Regions from separate parts of the Homo sapiens genome. Here region 2 is linked to region 1. Evidence: promoter capture Hi-C in 16 types of primary human blood cells and fetal thymus (Javierre and others, 2016). All regions are on one chromosome and are shown on one strand. Each heading gives the region's core, a stretch centred on a gene start or on the middle of the fragment in contact. The rest is flanking DNA. Distances are from core to core; before and after follow the strand shown.

Region 1 (5,772 bases), core at 1,042-3,541:
ACACTTAACCCCTTAGAAAGGTATCGCCCACTGCAAAGACGGCTTAAATTAAAATTTTTAGAAAATAAAAAATCAGGGCCTCACAAAATCCTTTAAAAATAAATTAAGACATGTAATGTATTCCAGAAATTAAGCCCCCAAAAGGGACACTTTTTAAGATAAGTTATTTAAATCGATTGCTAGATAATATACAATGGGAAACTAAAAAGTATACTTAGCAAGTGGAGCGCTGGATAGTGTATCTAATTCTAGCAATTCAAAAGGAAACTCTCTCCATGTGGGTTGCTACTTTTCTTTTGTCCATTGTCTGTTCAGAAGAGGGGGAAAAAAACTAGTTTAAACCAAGGCGTGAGCAGTCTCTAAAAGTGACCTCCAGGAAAAGAGTCCGACCCATAGCAGGAGCACTCTCCGCGCCGCTCGCTTCACGGGGGCGCTCACAAAGCGGGCGGCCGGCCGGGAGTTTGGGGTGCGCTCCCACGGCTCCGGGCTCCTCGAGGCAGAGCCATCCGGAGAAAGGCGGCTCGGTAATGATGGCTGCTCGGGGCCGGCGGCTCCTTCCCCAGAGCCTCCCGACCAGCGCCCCCACCCCCGCCCGGGAGCCGCCGCCGCCGCCGCCCCCGCCCCCCCCCCCCGCGACCTCGACAGCCCCGCGCCGCCGCGCCCGCCCCGCACCGCAGCCCAGCCGGTGCCCGCGCCCCCGCCCGAGCCCCGCGCCCCCAGCGAGCCCAATCCCCGGTGCGAACCAAACAAACAACGCGTCCCCCACCGCCCTCCTTTCCTCTCCCCGCTGACCGCTTGGCCTCCAGCCACCTCGGCCGTTCACGCTCCAAGCCGCGGCTCTCTGCGAGGGCAGAGCGCACCCGGGTCACCTCGGGGGCCACCTGGTGACCACCCCCCACCGGCGCTGACCCCCGGCGGGTTGGGGGGCGGGGGAGCCGAGTTGCGTTGGAAGGTTAAAGTCGCTATTATGCAGCTGCCGCCGCCGGCGGCCCGGCCAGCTCGACAAGGTGGGGTCCCCTCCTCGCCGCGCCTCCCGGCGCTCGCCCCGGCCCCGCTCCCTTTCTTCTCCTCCTAGCGCACTTGGGAGCCGCCGGGGAGCCCCAGGAGCCCCCAACTCCGGGCTCGCAACTCCGCGCCCGCGACCGGCACTGGCTGAGCTCGGGACGCCTCCCGCGCCGCGTGTTCGCGCTGCCCCCGCCCCACGCGGCGCCCCGCGCACTTTCCCCGCCGCCGACCCACCTCGCTCGGTGGCGGTCCCCGCGCGGGCTGGCGCCGCCGCGCCGGGAGGAACGCACTTTGTTCGCGCCGGTGCGGCCGCAGCTCCCGGCGAGCGCGGCGTGGTCGGTCCGGAGCGGGGGGCGGGGGCGGGAGGCGGGGGTCGCCGCCGTCCCCGAGCCGCCGCCGCCGCTGCTCAGCCGCCCCGCGCCCGCGCGCCCATCGCCCGCTCGCACTTGAGTTGGAGCCCAACTTTTCCTCCTTCCTTTTTCTCTCGAATGGAGCCGGCAACTCGTGCTCGGCGCCGGCGGGAGGAAACGCGCTCGCGCTCCCCCGCGCGCAGACACGCTCCCTCCTGTCCCCCGTACCCCCCCCCCACGCCGGCAGCACAACAAAAAGCCATTTACATGCGAGGAAGTGACCCTCGGCCGCACCGCGCGCCCCCGCCGCCGCCGGCCCGGCGGACGCAGGCAAAAGTTGGGGCGCCGGGCGGCGCTCGGGGCGCGGGTTCGGGCCCCGCGGGCGGCGACGCCGGCGACACTACGCGGGCGGCGCTGCGCTCCTGCGCTGGCCCCGGCCCCCTCCCGCCCTCGCCCCTCGCCCCTCGCCCCGCACACGCCCAACTCCTCGCTCCCAACTCCTAGCGCGGCCCCGGCCCCGGCCCGGAGCGATTTCCTGCCGCCGCCGCCGCCGCCGCCCCTCCCGGGGGCGCCGGGCGAACTCTCGCGCTCACCGGGTCGGTCGGGCTCCTCCGCTGCCTAGTGCCGAGGGGAAAACAAAACGCAGAGCGGGCTCCGGAGTTGGCTCGGCAGCTGCGGCCAGGGGGCTGAATCCACGGGCACGGAGTTGGCCGGGGGCGAACGGGTCTCTGGTGAGTTTCAGGGTGTCCGGGTCCCCGGGCCGCCTCCTCCGCGGCGCTCCTTTGTGTAATTTCACTCGATTCAAGTTTAATCCGATAGTTCCCGAGCACGAGCGCGTCCGCACCACCACGACTCAACCCCCGCGCCGCCGCCGCCGCCGCCGCTGCCGCCGCCGCCGCCGCCGCCGCCGCGGCCCCAGCACGCCAGCGCCTGCGCGCGTCCGGCACGCCGCGCGCACCCGAAGCCGCGGGGCCGCGCGCGCCCGCCGCCAGCTCCCTCCGGGCCGCGCCGCGCCCGCGCCCGCGCCCGCGCGCCGCCACCTGACGTCAGGCGCGCCTGGCATAATTTATGCAAGAATTCGGCCGGGGTGGCGGAGGCCGAGGGAGAGGCCGAGAGAAAAGGGGCGGCGCGGAGCTGCTGGGCCGCGGGCCGCGGGCCGCAAGGGCGGGCCGGGCGCCACTTCCCGTCCCCTGGCGGGCGCCGGCGCTTCAGGCGGGTCTCCCCGCCGGCCGGTGCGCTGCTGCCGCGGAGTCTTCCTTGCCCGGCTGCACGGAGCGCTCGGCCGCTGCGCCCGGGCGCGGACTGGAGGGGCTGCTGCCACGTCTCCCGCGCGGCACCTTCCCGGAGCCGGGTGCGCCGCCCCGGGGCAGGAAGCGGGGCTCCGGGAGGGCTGCGACCCTCCTGGCTGCCGCGAAGGGTTTCCGACGCTGCGCGGCCGGCGGCGGCCGGGGGTGACTGGCAGTCTCTGCAGTAATTATCCTTCAACTTGAAATTATTTTCCCACATGAAATTATTCGGAAGGGACATGTTCCATTCCAGATGGGTTCGTGCCTGCTTCTCCACATCGCTTTTCCCACCTCTTCGTGGATAGGACACCGGATCCACTACTTAATCAAAAAGTTTAACTAGATGGCATTGATTTTGTCGAATTTGTTACCATACCAAAAAAGAGAGAGAAGGCAGAGAGCTCAATGATTATGAAACAAAGAAATAGGATGTATGCCCATTATTAAACGTGTCGGGACTAGAATGTTTTACTCATTCTTTGGCCAAAATGGCACTTGTATCTGATTGCATAGTCTTAAAAATCCGAGCCTCTTATTCCATTTCTCTTCCCGGTACAAAATGAATGTTAAACCTGAAGAAAAAAAACTTTTTTTTACTAATTTTTATTTTAGGAAATAGATCTACAAACATGGATTAAGCCTCTTCTATCTGCAAAATACGGAGCAATTATAATGTGTTTAAACCATCAATTGTAAACTTTAAGATAATTTTATTAGGTTAAAGATTGCACTTATTTTAAAATCAGGAAAGGAACTCATATCAACCAAAGATTGCCCTATGGCAGGTACAGACTGACTGGTTATTACTGGACTCCAAAATAAACTGAGAAAATAGCAAAACTATGTAAAATGTACTAATCTCACTCACTGATGGTTACACTACCTGTAGTGCTAAGCCTGTAATCACAATATTGTTATTTGGACAAAAGATTAATCAAAACTATCTCATTAAGTAACTACTGCAACTATTCAATAAGTTTGATTATCCTAGACTTAATCACTAAGACATTGATTTTCTGATTTTAGTAATAATTCTATAAATATATCACATTATATTGTGGTTTGTTAAATGCACTGCTTTTAGCTTGCTTTCATCATGTATTTGAGTTTTGTTCTAAAAGAAATAAATGTTTTAATGTTTAAGGAGCTTACAGATCATCAAAAAGAACATAGAAGACAGTACAGAAAGAATTCTGGCATTTAAAAAGTTGAAACCACTAAAATCAACTTCCATCTGTTTTAAACCCGGTATCACAAACCAAGAATCACAACTCTGAGGTTAGGCTACTGTTTCCATTAAGTTTATATTTCCCAATGAAAGTATATGAAAGGTGCTTTAGGGGTGTGTGGGGCGGGGGGGTCAAAAACAGGACACAATGTCTAGAAAAAAAATCGCTAGTACCTGACTATATTAGAACACATTTTTAAAATAATGTGCCATAAAAAATTATGTCTTATCTTTTACAGTGTGCCACAGCTCGATATCAGATGTGCATCTATTTCAAGGCAATTCACAGGAGAAAAAAAATGACATCTACATATAGTGAAATTACAATATTGCAATTAACTTGTTATCAACAAATATGACTATGAGGAGATTCCCTGTGCTCTTGTACATTTAACTCGAAAGCTAGGAAACTTCCTTTTGATATATACCAGTACCCAATGTAAAAACAGTCCTACAGAATATAAGTCCTCTGACTTATAGTCTCCTTATCCTGATCACTGCCCTGAGCCATCATGAAGAAGTCTCTAAGCTTTTAGATGTTGTGGTGGTGTGGAACGTAAGGGGCCTTAAAAAGTAGAGGCCCTCAGGGGCAAACTCCTAGGCAGATCTGGCCTACCTGAGTCATAGCTCTCACCACACCACCACCATCCCCCAACACTCCCCTTTAGCCTGAAATGTTTTTTCTCCATTTGCTTCACTATTGAAGTTTTCCCAATGAGAGTAATTTGAATTCACAAGCTTTCTCTTTAAGTATGCAAATACCTTAGGGTGAGATAAGGGGCTACTGGTCTTTCACAGATGAGTGTAAATTGGTTCAATGGGTTGCTTTCCTCCCAACAGCTAGCCAGAGTAACAAATTTAGAGACTTAGCCATTCATTCAACTTCGAGTGCCTAAGAGTTTCCAGGATTGGTTCTAGGTACTGGAGATATAGTAGTGAACAAAACAGACAAAACGTCCTGCCCTCATGGAGTTTACAATCTAGTGGATTGGTAGTTTTGATCTGGTGATAAGGGAGAATGTTAATTTTGGAGTCTGAGCCCTGGAGGAATAGGACAGACCTGAGTTCCGTGTAGCCAGAGGACAGTGGAAAGGTACTAAGGACCTGGGAAGGAGGGCATTGAAGAATGGAGCGGGCCAAGCAGAAAGCAGTTGAGAAAAACACCAAAGAAAATATGACCCACTACAAAAAGGTTGTCTAGGCCCTAGGTCATGAATAGATACAGTCTATTTGAAGAGCTCAGACTTAATGCTGAATTCCACAGACAAATAAATATCTCTGGAAAAATAGCCCAGAATGTATCAACCTATAATACCTGTGGTGAGGGGGTAATGTGCACATCTAAAATAACTGAAAAAACACTCTAACTCTCAAACACTTAAAAATCAAGTCCTATCTATATTAAATGTTTCCAACTTTAAAATATTATGTAAATTACACTAATTCCAGTGTTGAGGGCATCCTTCAGTATATTTTTGGAACTCATCTTTTGAAATTGTGTTCAGAACCAATTTGCAAGTACTGGAAAATAACTCTCTTTAGCGCCACATATTTTTCCCCCACTAAAAACTGTTATTTTTCTTCATTCACCAAATTTACATCCAAATGACTTTGGCTAGCTCCAAACAATATATTTTGCCTCTAAATGATGAAGGTTTACTGCCATTGAAGATACATAAATAATTAAAATATAAATATATAGAGGGGTATAAATGCTGAAGAAAGCAGCAAAAAGAAAAGTCTAAAAAACTTTTTCTGCTTCACTGGGATAATGGCATAATCCTCCTCTGTAATTTTTTCTTTTTTTTTTTTTTTTTTTTTTGAGACGGAGTCTCACTCTGTCACCCAGGCTGGAGGGGGCAGCGGCGAAGTCTCAGCTCACTGCAAGTTCCACCTCCCTGGT
Region 2 (5,503 bases), core at 614-3,113, 39 kb before region 1:
AGTCTGAGACTGATATCCATTTCAAGAAAATTCTGAAAAAAAAGTTTATAAACCTTTGAGCCCCCACACGTTTCAAATATTTTAAAGACATAAAATCAATCTATCTATCTAAATCTAACAATTGTGGAACTTCAAAATGAAAAGTGTCCAAATTTTTCATATTCCTGCTCTGGAACTTTACAAAATATTTTCAGCCTACTCATCTGAAATCATAATTTAGACTTACTTGAATCAAAAAAGGAAGTCTGCCAATCTCCAAAGTTTCCTACCCTGTGGGTGACAAATCCTTTCCCATATCCAAATAGTGTCATGCATCACTCAAGTGTCAGTTTAGAAGGCAAGAGGCTACCTGTAAACATAGTCATGTGTCACCTAATGATGAGGACACAGTCTGAGAAATGTGTCGCTAAGTGATTTTATCTTTGTGCAAACATCACAGAGTGCACTTACACAAACCAAGATGGTACAGCCTCCTACACACCTAGGCAACATGATACAGCCTATTGCTCCTAGGCTGCAAACCTGTGCAGCATGTTACAGAATACTGTAGGCAACTGCAACACAATGGTATCTAAGCATAGAAAAGGTACAGCAAAAATACAATATAAAAGATTAAAAATGATACACTTGCATAGGGCACTTACCATGAATGGAGCTTGTAAACTAGAAGTTGCTCTGGGTGAGTGAGTGAGTGAGTGAGTGGTGAATGAATATGAAGGCCTAGGATGTTACTGCACACTGCTGTAGACTTTATAAACATTGTACACCTAGGCTATAATGAATTTATGAAAATTAATTTTTCTTTCTTCAATAAATTTATCTGTTTACTGTAACTTTTTTATTTTATAGACTTTAACCTTTTGACTTTTACAACTTAAAAGACGAACACATTGTACAGCCATACAAAAGTATTTTCTTTCTTTATATCTTTATTCCAAAAGCTTTTTCATATTTTTAAATGTTTAATTTAGTTTAGTTTTTTACTTTTCAAACTTTCTTTTTTTTTTTCTTTTGAGATGGAGTCTCACTCTGTCTCCCATGCTGGAGTGCAATGGCACAATCTTGGCTCACTGCAACCTCCACCTACCGGGTTCAAGAGATTCTCCTGCCTCAGCCTCCCGAGTATCTGAGATTAGCGCCTGCCACCACACCCAGCTAATTTTTGTATTTTTTAGTAGAGATGGGGTTTTGCCATGTTGGCCAGGCTGGTCTCCAACTCCTGACCTCAGGTGATCCACCCACCTTAGCCTCCCAAAGTGCTGGGATTACAGGTGTGAGCTACCGCGACCAACTTCAAACTTTCTTGTTAAAAACTAAGACAGACATACACATTAGCCTAGACCTACACAGGTTGGGATCATCAATATCACTGTCTTCCATCTCCACATTCTGTGCCACTCTGAAGACTGGAAGGTCTTCGGAGGCCATCACAGGCATGGAACTGTCATCTCCTATGATAACAATGCCTTCTGGAATATCCCCTGAAGGACCTGCCTGAAGATGTTTTACAGTTAAATTTAAAAAAAAATGGTAGAAGGGGTATACTCCAAAATAACAATAAAAAGTATAGTATAGCAAATACAAGAACCAGTAACACAGTTTACTGTCATTATCAAATATTATGTATTGTGCATAATTTTACATGGTGTACTTTTATAAGACCAGCAATACAGTAGGTTTGTTTATACCACCATCACCACAAACCCATGGGTAATGTGTTGCTCTACATTATGATGACTACAATTGTCAGTGGACAATGGAATTTTTCAGCTCCATTATAATCTCATGAGACCACTGTTGTATATGTGGCCCATCGCTGACCAAAACATCATTATATGGCACATGACTGTATAATGAACCTTCAATCAATCAACTTTCAGGGGTAGTTACCTTACACTTTTCAGCTCATGCCACCTGCCCTTCCCCTACACCCATAAGGTTTAACTACATAACCACCTGAGTTGTAGCATGACCAAAAGGAAAGTAACAGTAAAGAAACTAGGGTCACATACTGTGCCACTGCAAGGCCTGACCTATATCAAGAACACAGTTACTTTCTCTCTAGATAAACAAAATACATAGTGCTAGAAATACTCTGAAATGAAAAATGTGAAATAACTTTGTGCCCTCAGAAAAGTTCTACACAAAGTTATTGCTAAGTCTAATAACCAAAGTGTTTACTCTGCAGCCAACAAGTATAACTAAATGGAAAACACCACAATGATACACTATCTTTCATTTACAAGGAAGCAAATCACTATAATTCCAACTTGACAGTAAACTAATGTTATTCTAATAATTTTCTTTTCAAATGGAATAACTCACCTTTACCAAGTGATCAAAGTACGTATCACCAGTAAACGGGACAAATGAACATTACGTACCCAGATGCAATGACCTGAGGGAAGACATACCACCATTCATGCATTACTCCAGGAAAAAAAAAAAAAAAAAGGCTTAAGGTAGATGTAACAAGAGGGGAAAAATGTGTAATTTGCTAATCAGGACTGTCTCAAAGAGAAACACTGTCTTCAATTTCTGAAAGCCACTATAGTGTAACAATATTTGCTATCTTGCTTACAAAGTTTCATCGGCTATACTATGCCAAAAAGTGTGCTACAGAGAACCGAAGACATTTTTCCCTCCAATGATTAGCTCCCATATAATTTTAAGCAACAAATATGTATTGTGCACCTATCATCTGTCAAACACTGTCCTAGGCACTGGAGATGCATCAGTAAACATTATGGACAACGATTCCTTCATGCAGCTTAATTAAGCTTTGTTTGTGGAGAGAGTCAAACAAAATAAATAAGTAAATAACTAAAAGGAAAGTAAGAGAGAAAAACCAAATCACAGCAGAGGGACCGGTTGGAGGAAGGAGGTGCAATTTTAAATTGGGTGGTAAGGGACTGCCTCACAGGGAAGATAGTTATGTATGATCGGGAAGGAACTGAGGAGTCAGCCCAGCAGGCCCTACGAGGCCCTGACAGTGTCTGAGGAGATCAGAGCAACTGTGGAAGACTGAGAGGGGAACTGGCACCTGAGCATCTAAAGGACAGCAAGGACAAAGTGTGGTGTCCCATGAGATTCTGGATGGGGGAGGCTGGAGCAGAGGGTACTTCTGTGAGGGCTGAGGTTTTGCCTCAAGAGGATGAATCACGAACTGCTTTCAGCAGAGGAGGGACATGATCCAGCTCTGGCTCTGAGAGATGACTTTGACTGCTAACATTGGAAAGACTGCAGGCAACACAGGCAACAGCAGGGAGAGCAGTAGGGGAGCTACTGCAGTAACACCGGCAAGGAAAAAAGGCCACTTGGACCCGGGTGGTAGAAGTGGAGAGAAAAGGTATCAGACTCTGCATATACTTTAAAGGCAGAGCCAGAGGCTTTGAGAACAAATTCAATGTAGCTTGTGAAAGAGTCAAGGAGGACTCCAAGGTTTCTAATACCACAATGTGATGAAGGTTCTGGAAACAATGGTCTCGGAAGGTACTTTAACATCTGCTGTCTCATTTTACACCAAAGTCCTATGAAGTAGGCTGTGAAGGTACAGTGTCACCACCTTTCACGAAGGAAGACACAGGGCGTGGACAGTTAACTGTTCTGTCCATATACATAGTGGTATTAGAAACAAAATAGTGGCCTATATTTTCTAGCCCAAGTTTAGGGTTTTTTTCCATTATACCATGTAACTTGACGTTTTGTTTTGTTTTGTTTTGTTTTTCTAAGGTAGAGTATTGCCATATACAGGAGAAACCCTGCTCCAAGGAGTTTCAGATGGCTCCCTTGAACCAGCGGCTAACATGACTCAGACGCGGCCCCAAAGGGAAGCTCCTTTGGCCAAGTGGAAGCCAAAAAGAGGAAGGGGCTGGGCGCGGTGGCTCACGCCTGTAATCCCAGCATTTTAGGAGGCCAAGGCAGGCGGATCCCCTGAGATCAGGAGTTTGAGACCAGCCTGGCCAACATGGTGAAAATCTGTCTCTACTAAAACACAAAAATTAGCTGGGCGTGGTGGCAGGTGCCTGTAATCCCAGCTACTCCGGAGGCTGATGCAGAATTCCTTGAACCCAGCAGGCGGAGTTTGCAGTGAGGTGAGATCGGCCACTGCACTCCAGCCTGGGCGACAAAGCAAGACTCCCAAAAAAAAAAAAAAAAAAAGGCAGAGCCCTCTGTGTGCTGGAAAGGCCCCTCCCTGAGTTGGTGTCTGATTCTATGAGGGATACATACAACTGGAAAGCCAGCGATGGTTCATCTAGCCTTATTAATAAAAATGCACTCCAAAGTTTAGCCCAAAGCTGTTAGTTCTTCACTCTCATCGGTCTCCGGAAGCAAATAGTGTCAATGTGGCGGCTCTCATTTTTTAACATCAGCTATAAAACTCTAATGTCTTTCTCCAATCACATTTCTCACTGATCAAGAAGAGCCATGCATTGAGCAATCCCACCAACACAAAAAAACAAACCATTCGGACAGAGTATTTCTCTTTCCTATTCTTGTGGCTGCCGGCAGAATATTCCCTCCTGCCCCTCCCCACTATGGCGCCTGCGCCCTCATGCTCCACCGCATTCATTCATTCATTCAGCCGCTGAGCACCTTTCTGATAGAGCTATGTCAGCAACAGGCATTACCATCCCCTTTTCCCCTGGGCAGACCTGGAACACAGAATTACAAGTGGGCTGTGGGCTACGAAGGCAAAACAGGCTGCTGAGGTCAAGTTACGGGGACCTAGCCAGGTCTCCATCCAGAGAAGGCCTCCCGAGACGACCAGAGTGAGGAGGAGCGGGAGCCATGAGGGAGGGCAGGTGGCAAGAAGGGCTCGGAACAGAGGGCGTGGCCTGTGCAGCACCTGAGGCCAAGAAAGGGCGGAACCAGGCCGCGAAGTGGGGGGCAGTGTGGCCATTTCGAGAAGCCCAGGGGCCAGGAGGGCTGAGGGCTGAGCCAGGTGCCAGCGCTGGAGATGACCCTACAGCGGTGCGCACGGGCGCGAGATGGCCTCGCTGACTCCTGCCCACTTCGCTCCCAGTCTCAGCGTCCAGAGGCCTGGCGGTGTGCGGGGCGGGGGGGGGGGGGGGGGGGGGCCTTCTCCCGGCCGCCATGTTGTCAGGCCAGGTGGGGCTCGGCCTTCCGGTCAGGAAGTGGCCGCAGCTCCGGCCCCGAGCCACTGAGGCGGGCATGAGGTGAAGCGAGCGCCCCGAGTGGGTGGGAGGCCACGGTGCCGGCAGCGAGGGCCTTATGAGGGCCTTCCGCGTGCCAGCGATGACCCCGCTCCGCCCTGCGTCTGGCCCAGGGGATGCCCCGCCCCCCGGGGGGCCCGCTCGCCGTCCTCATGTCCTCGCGCGGGCTCCGGGCGCTGACCCATCCCGGAAGCGCGGCCCAGCCCGGCCCACCCCGCCCGCCGAGGCCTGGCTCTGCCCCAGCGCTCCCCCTAAGCAGCCCTGGGAGTCTGAATCTGGGGTTTTGGAATGAAGGCATGCCTTTTTTCTTAACTGCCTTTTTATTG

What was found. The method cuts DNA at HindIII sites, captures the fragments that hold promoters and counts their contacts. A CHiCAGO score of 5 or more calls a contact.
Region 2: a fragment that was not itself captured here is called in contact with the fragment with the promoter of CHD7 in region 1 in 3 of 17 cell types (activated CD4 T cells, naive CD4 T cells and naive CD8 T cells); the score reaches 5.9 in activated CD4 T cells.

The regions. Positions count from the first base shown.
Region 1 is chr8:60,675,259-60,681,030 of GRCh38, reverse strand. It overlaps CHD7 (chromodomain helicase DNA binding protein 7), which reads right to left and starts at 2,291. Exons shown (of 38, transcript NM_017780.4): 1 at 1,949-2,291. RefSeq lists silencers at 814-1,183, 1,844-1,943, 2,304-2,743. The HindIII fragment of the contact is 9,178 bases long and covers 1-4,400 here.
Region 2 is chr8:60,713,985-60,719,487 of GRCh38, reverse strand. All of the region lies in intron 1 of CHD7 (chromodomain helicase DNA binding protein 7), which reads right to left. Among named protein-coding and RNA genes, the nearest start is that of CHD7, 38 kb to the right of the region's middle. The HindIII fragment of the contact is 1,839 bases long and covers 944-2,782 here.